2 separate regions of the Homo sapiens genome follow, and region 2 is linked to region 1. Evidence: promoter capture Hi-C in human tissues and cell types (Jung and others, 2019). All regions are on one chromosome and are shown on one strand. The core of a region is centred on a gene start or on the middle of the fragment in contact, and the rest is flanking DNA. Distances in the headings are between cores, read along the strand shown. Region 1 holds the start of ZIM3 (zinc finger imprinted 3). Region 2 has its middle 6.5 kb from the start of ZNF264.

The links. Contacts are between HindIII fragments. The study calls those that stand out against the background at their distance.
Region 2: a contact is called between a fragment that was not itself captured here and the fragment with the promoter of ZIM3 in region 1, in 1 of the 25 tissues and cell types used here (psoas muscle).

What each region holds. Positions count from the first base shown.
Region 1 is chr19:57,143,243-57,146,451 of GRCh38, reverse strand. It overlaps ZIM3 (zinc finger imprinted 3), which reads left to right and starts at 1,250. Exons shown (of 5, transcript NM_052882.1): 1 at 1,250-1,593. The HindIII fragment of the contact is 26,155 bases long and covers 1-2,799 here.
Region 2 is chr19:57,183,553-57,186,438 of GRCh38, reverse strand. No RefSeq gene overlaps it. Among named protein-coding and RNA genes, the nearest start is that of ZNF264, 6.5 kb to the left of the region's middle. The HindIII fragment of the contact is 3,949 bases long and covers 1-2,886 here.

The DNA.
Region 1 (3,209 bases), core at 1-2,500:
ATATATAAAATCACTCCACCCCTTTCCGTTCACCTGCAGGCTTGCTCTGTCTCTCAGGCTGGAATGCAGTGGCAAGATCCTTGCTCACTGCAGCCTTGACCTCTTGGGCTCAATTGATCCTCCCACCTCAGCCTTCCAAGTATCTGGGACTATAGTAGTCCGACACGGCGGCTGGGATTCAGGCTGGCTGGGTCATTTTGCTTTTTTTTTCTTTTTTTTTTTTTTGAGATGGAGTCTCCCTCTGTCGCCCAGGCTGGAGTGCAGTGGCATGATCTCAGCTCACAGCAACCTCTGTGTTTTGGGTTCAAGCAATTCTGCCTCAGCCTCTTGAGTAGCTGAGTAGCTGGGACTACAGGTGTGTACCACCATGCCCAGCTAATTTTTGTATTTTTAGTAGAGACAGGATTTCACCATGTTGACCAGGCTGGTCTTGAACTCCTGACCTCAGGTGATCTGTCTGCCTCAGTCTCCCAAAGTGTTGGGATTACAGGCTTGAGCCACCGCACACCGCCAAGGGTCATTTGCTAATACGATCTTTGGATACCTCTTCTCCTGGGAGGAGGTCTAGTCTGGTGCATCCTGTCCCATGAAGTCTGGTTTAATCTCTTGGAATTCAGTTGGACGCTCAATTTTGGAAGGTCTCCATGTCTGCAGGCAAGGGCATGTAGCCTGTGTTTAAATTCAACACCCAGACTAGGGTGGGGATGGATTGGCATGTTGATCTCATTTTGAGAGTATTAGTACAGCTGAAGAGATTTTGCCAGTTGGAGGTTGGAGCCTGAATTCTTTCTGTCGGGCGGAGAGCACTTTAAGGCATTGTTCCACCTCCGCTGGCCCTATTTCTTTTTTCTTTTCCTTTCTTTTTTTTTTTTTGAGACGTGAGATGGAGTCTCGCTCATTGCCCAGGCTGGAGTGCAGTGGCACGATCTTGGCTCACTGAAGCCTCCGTCTCCCGGGTTCAAGCGATTCTCCTGCCTCAGCCTCCCAAGTAGCTGGGATTACAGGCACGTGCCACCATGACCAGCTAATTTTTGTATTTTTAGTAGAGACGGGGTTTCCCCATGTTGGCCAGGCTGGTCTTGAACTCCTGTCCTCCCAAAGTGCTGGGATTACAGGCATGAGCCACCGTGCCCAGCCAATTTTTGTTGTTTTAATTTATTTTCATCCTCTGACATTTGGATAATGTTTTCCATGCTTTCTATTTCAAAGTTAAGGTAAAAAATTTTTACTTGCATGAACTTAAAAAAAATTCCATTGGAAACTGATTGGGCAGATTTGAAAATTAAGCTTTCACAATCACAATTTTTATGAGAGTTCATTCAGTTTTGGAGAAGTCGAGGAAAGAATTGGGAATTGAAATTTTGATGTGGCCTGATAGGATCAGGTGGGGCTTTTGATAGGAAGTGAGTGTTTTGGGTTGTTTCTTGACTGGATTATGATGCGGAATACAGCGGGTAGAGGGCCGATTAAGTTTTAGTCATTAGTGTAGCTTTTCAGTATACACGCCTTTTCATTTTCAGTCCCTTTCAGAAGAAAAGACCACAGGCATCAGAAATCAATCAACTTGCTAATTTATGCCAGATTCCACTGGAGGTAAGCTGATTTTTTTTTCTCCCTGAAAACCAAATGTCTGGGTTTTGTTTGTTTGTTTGTTTTGCATTTTTACTTAGTTTCATTTTTCTACCTCTCCTATTTGCTGGAATAAGCTAAATATTTTACATTGGTAGTTTAGATTTTTTTTTTAGTTGTCATATTGAAAAGTGATGCTCCCAGGACACTCAAAATTATTTTCGTGGCCCTCCAGTCCTTAGCATTACTGCTGGCCCACAGCTACTTCTAAAAACTTTTTATTGACAAATAATAATTGTGTTTATTTATGGGGTACAATGTGATGTTTTGATACATGTTTACATTGGGGGGATGATTAAATCAAGCTAATTAATCTATTTTTGTGGTGAAAGCATTTACAATTTACTGTTTTTTAAAATTATATATATTTTTTGTGCTAGAATTGGACTCCTCAAACTTTAATAAACATTAAAGTTGTGCCCGGCAAGTTTATTCTTTTTAAAAACATATTTACTTATTTAAAACTTTATTCCTGGCTGGTGTGGTGGCTCATGCATGTAATCCCAGGATTTGGGGAGGCTGAGGGAGGAGGATTGCTTGAGCCTAGGAGTTTGAGACCAGTTTAGGTGACATAGCAAGATCCCTTCTTTACAAAAAATAAAAAGTTAGCTGATGTGGTAGCATGCACCCATAGTCTTAACTATTCAGGAGGCCAAGGTAGGAGGATTGCTTGAGCCAGGGATTTTTAAACTGCTGTGAGCCGGGATCACATCACTGCACTCCAGCCTGGGTGACAGAATGAGACCCTGCCTCAATAAAATAAAATAAAAAATAAAAACTTTATTACTTAAACATTGAGACAGAGGTTTCACTATGTTGCACAGGCTGGTCTCAAACTCCTGGGCTTGGCTGGATGTGGTGGTTCACGCCTATAATCCCAGCACTTTGGGAGGCTGAGGCCGGCGGATCACTTGAGATCAGCAGCTCGAGACCAGCCTGAACAACATGGTAAAACCTTGTCTCTACTAAAAATGCAAAAATTAGCTGGGCATGGTGGTGCATGCCTGTAATCCCAGCTACACGGGAGGCTGAGGCAGGGGAATCCCTTGAACCCGGGAGGCAGAGGTTGCAGTGAGCCGAGACTGTGCCACTGCACTCCAGCCTGGGCGACAGAGCAAGACTTGGTCTTAAAAAAAAAAAAAAAAAAGTAACTCCTGGGCTCAACTGATCCTCCCACCTTGGCTTTCCAAAGTGCTGGGATTATAGGTGTGAGCTGCCACGCGTGGCCAAAATCTACGCTTTTGGCAAAGAATTACCAATGATCCAGCTGTCCCGCTTATGGCAAAGCTGAAGGGCTATCTGCATCCCATGTTCACTGCGGCGTTATTCGTCACGACCACAGCTGCTTCAGGATTCATGGTTTCTGCTCTCGGCCTTCCTTACTGTGCTCTAGCTGATCTGATGCTTGCCTCATTGTCTTTGCACAGGCTTGTTTTAAAGGTGCTGTTGAACTGCTGTTTAGCTTTCTCTCTCTCTCTTTTTTTTTTTTTTTGGGACGGAGTCTCGCTCTGTCGCCCAGGCTGGAGTGCGGTGGCGCGATCTCGGCTCACTGCAAGCTCCGCCTCCCGGGTTCCCGCCAT
Region 2 (2,886 bases), core at 141-2,640, 40 kb before region 1:
GGAACCCTGTTTTTCTCTTAAGGCCTTTCAACTGATTAGATAAGAACCACCTACATTATCAAAATAACTGATTATAGATGTTAACCGTTTCTATGAAATACCTTCATAACAATACCCTGGTCAGTGTTTAATACAATTTCTGGGTAGTACAGCCTAAACAAGTTTACACATATAGTTGGCAATCATACTCTACCCCTTGTCACCTTAAACCATCTTTAATCTTCAAATAAATACAGTAAAAAAGGCTTATTTTGGCCAGGTGTGGTGGCTCACACCTGTAATCCCAGTACTTTGGGAGGCTGAGGTGGGTGGATCACTCGAGGTGAGAAGTTCGAGACCATCCTGGCAAACATGGGGAAGTCTCTACTAAAAATACAAAATTAGCCAGGCGTGGTGGCACACACCTGTAATCCCAGCTAGTCAGGAGGCTGAGGCAGGAGAATCGCTTGAACCCAGGAGGCAGAGATTGAAGTAAGCTGGGATCGGGCCACTGCACTCCAGCCTGGCGACAGAGCGAGACTCCGTTTCAAAAGAAAAAAAAAAAAGATTAAAAAAAATAGAGATGGGGGTCTTAATATGTTGCCCAAGCTGGTCTTGAATTCCTGGCCTCAAGCAATCTTCTCACGTTGGCTTCCCAAAGTGCTGGGATTACAGGCGTGAGCCACAGCACCCAGCCCTGGATATTATATGCTTGCTTGAAAGCCTGTGGCAGGAAATCCACTTCCTACCCCAATCTCCACATGGCTCAGCCCCTCATCTCCCTATAGACTTTGATCTATGTCACATTCTAAATAAGCTGTTTCCTGATCATTCTAATGAAAATTGCAAACAACTCCCCAAACTCTGACACCCTGATCCACCTTACTCTCCTTTTCCTTCTTTTTGTTATAGCACTGGTTAACTTATCATGTCTATTTCTGTATTATAATTATTGTTTATTTCTGACTTTTCATCCAGAATGTTAGCTCCATGAGGGTAAGCGTCAGTGATGATTTTGTTCACTGCTGGATCCTAAGTTTTTTTTTTGTTTGTTTGTTTTTTTAATTGAGACAGGGTCTTGCTCTGTCACCCAGGCTGGAGTGCAGTGGTGCGACCTCAGTTCACTGCAGACTTGATCTCCCAGGCTCAATCGATCCTACCACCTTAGCCTCCCAAGTAGCTGGGACTACATGCAGCTATGCCACCATGCTCGGCTAATTTTTATTTTTATTTTTGTAGATGGGCTTTTGCCATATTGCCCAGGCTGGTCTCAAATTTCTGGGCTCAAGCAATCTGCCCATCTCGGCCTCTCTAAGTGCTGGGATTGCACGTGTGATCCACCATCCCTGGCCTGTATCTCTAGTCTTTTAAACCATGTCTGGCACACAGCAGACACACAAGAGATATCTCAATAAGATCTAATGGAACCCTGGCTCACAATCCTGAAAAATGATGGACTGAAAAACTCTCTCTGGGAAGCCAAGGCAGAAAGATTGCTTGAGGCCAGGAGTTTGAGATCAGCCTGGGTAACATAGTGAGACACCATCTCTACAAAAAAATTAAAAAGTAGCTGGGTATGGTGGTGCACAACTGTCGTCCCAGTAACTCAGGAGGCTGAGGCTGGAGGATCGCTTGAGCTTAGGAGGTTGAGGCTGCTGTGAGCTGTGATGGTGCCACTGTATTCCAGCCTGGGTGACAGAGGGAGACGTTGTCTCAAAAAAAAAAAAAAAAAAGTTGTTAAGAGCTGAGCATGGTGGCTCACACCTGTAATCCTCAAAACTTGGGAAGCTGAGATGGGAAGATCACTTGAACCCAGGAATTTCAGGCTGCAGTGAGCAATGAACCTGCCACTGCACTCCAGCCCAGGCAACAGAGCAAGCCCCCAACTCTTAAAAAATTTTTAAAATAAAAAAAATTGTATTGAAGTTATCTTTGTTACTTTTATATTTTACATGTGTGTTGCTGCTTTGCATAAGCTTATATTTAGGATGTCAAAAGGCTTAAGACAATCTGATTTATTAAATGTGTAAGTCTTACTGGGTTTACGAGAGTAGCTCAAGGGTGTTTTTATTTTATTAAAGGTCACTCTGCTGCCCAGGATGTAGTTGCAGTGGAGTGACCATAGTTTTCTGCAGCCTTGACTTTTTTTTTTTTTTTTTTTTTTTTTTTTGAGATGGAGTCTCTCTCTGTCGCCCAGGCTGGAGTGCAGTGGCGTGATCTTGGCTCACTGCAACCTCTGCCTCCCGGTTCAAGCAATTCTCCTGCCCCACCCTCCCGAGTAGCTAGGATTACAGGCACCTGCCACCATGCCTGGCTAATTTTTTTGTATTTTTAGTAGACACGGGGTTTCACCATGTTGGCCAGGCTGGTCTCGAACTCCTGATCTCATGACTCACCCACCTTGGCCTCCCAAAGTGCTGGGATTACAGGCGTGAGCCACCATGCCCAGCCAACATTTTAGGCCGAAGCAATCCTCCTACCTCACCCTCCCAAGTAGATGTGACTGTGGGTGTGTACCACCATGCCCAGCTAATTTATTTTTTAATTTTTTGTAAAGACAGGTTCTTGCCATGTTGCCCAGTCTGGTCTTGAACTCCTGGGCTCAGGTGATCCTCCCACCTCAGCCTCCCAAAATGTTGGGATTACAGGCATGAGCCACCCACACTTGGCAGCTTAAGAGTTTAAAAACGACATTATAAGACTTTGCAAGAGGCTAGGCGTGGTGGCTCATGCCTATAATCCCAGCACTTTGGGAGGCCAAGGTCAAGGTGAGAGGATCCCTTGAGCCCAGCAGCTCAAGATCATCCTTGGCAACATAGCGAGACCCCATCTCTACAAAAAAAAAAAAAAAAAAAAAAAAAAGAAGAAAAAAGACTTATAAGTCTGTCATGTTAGACGTTTGAAGAG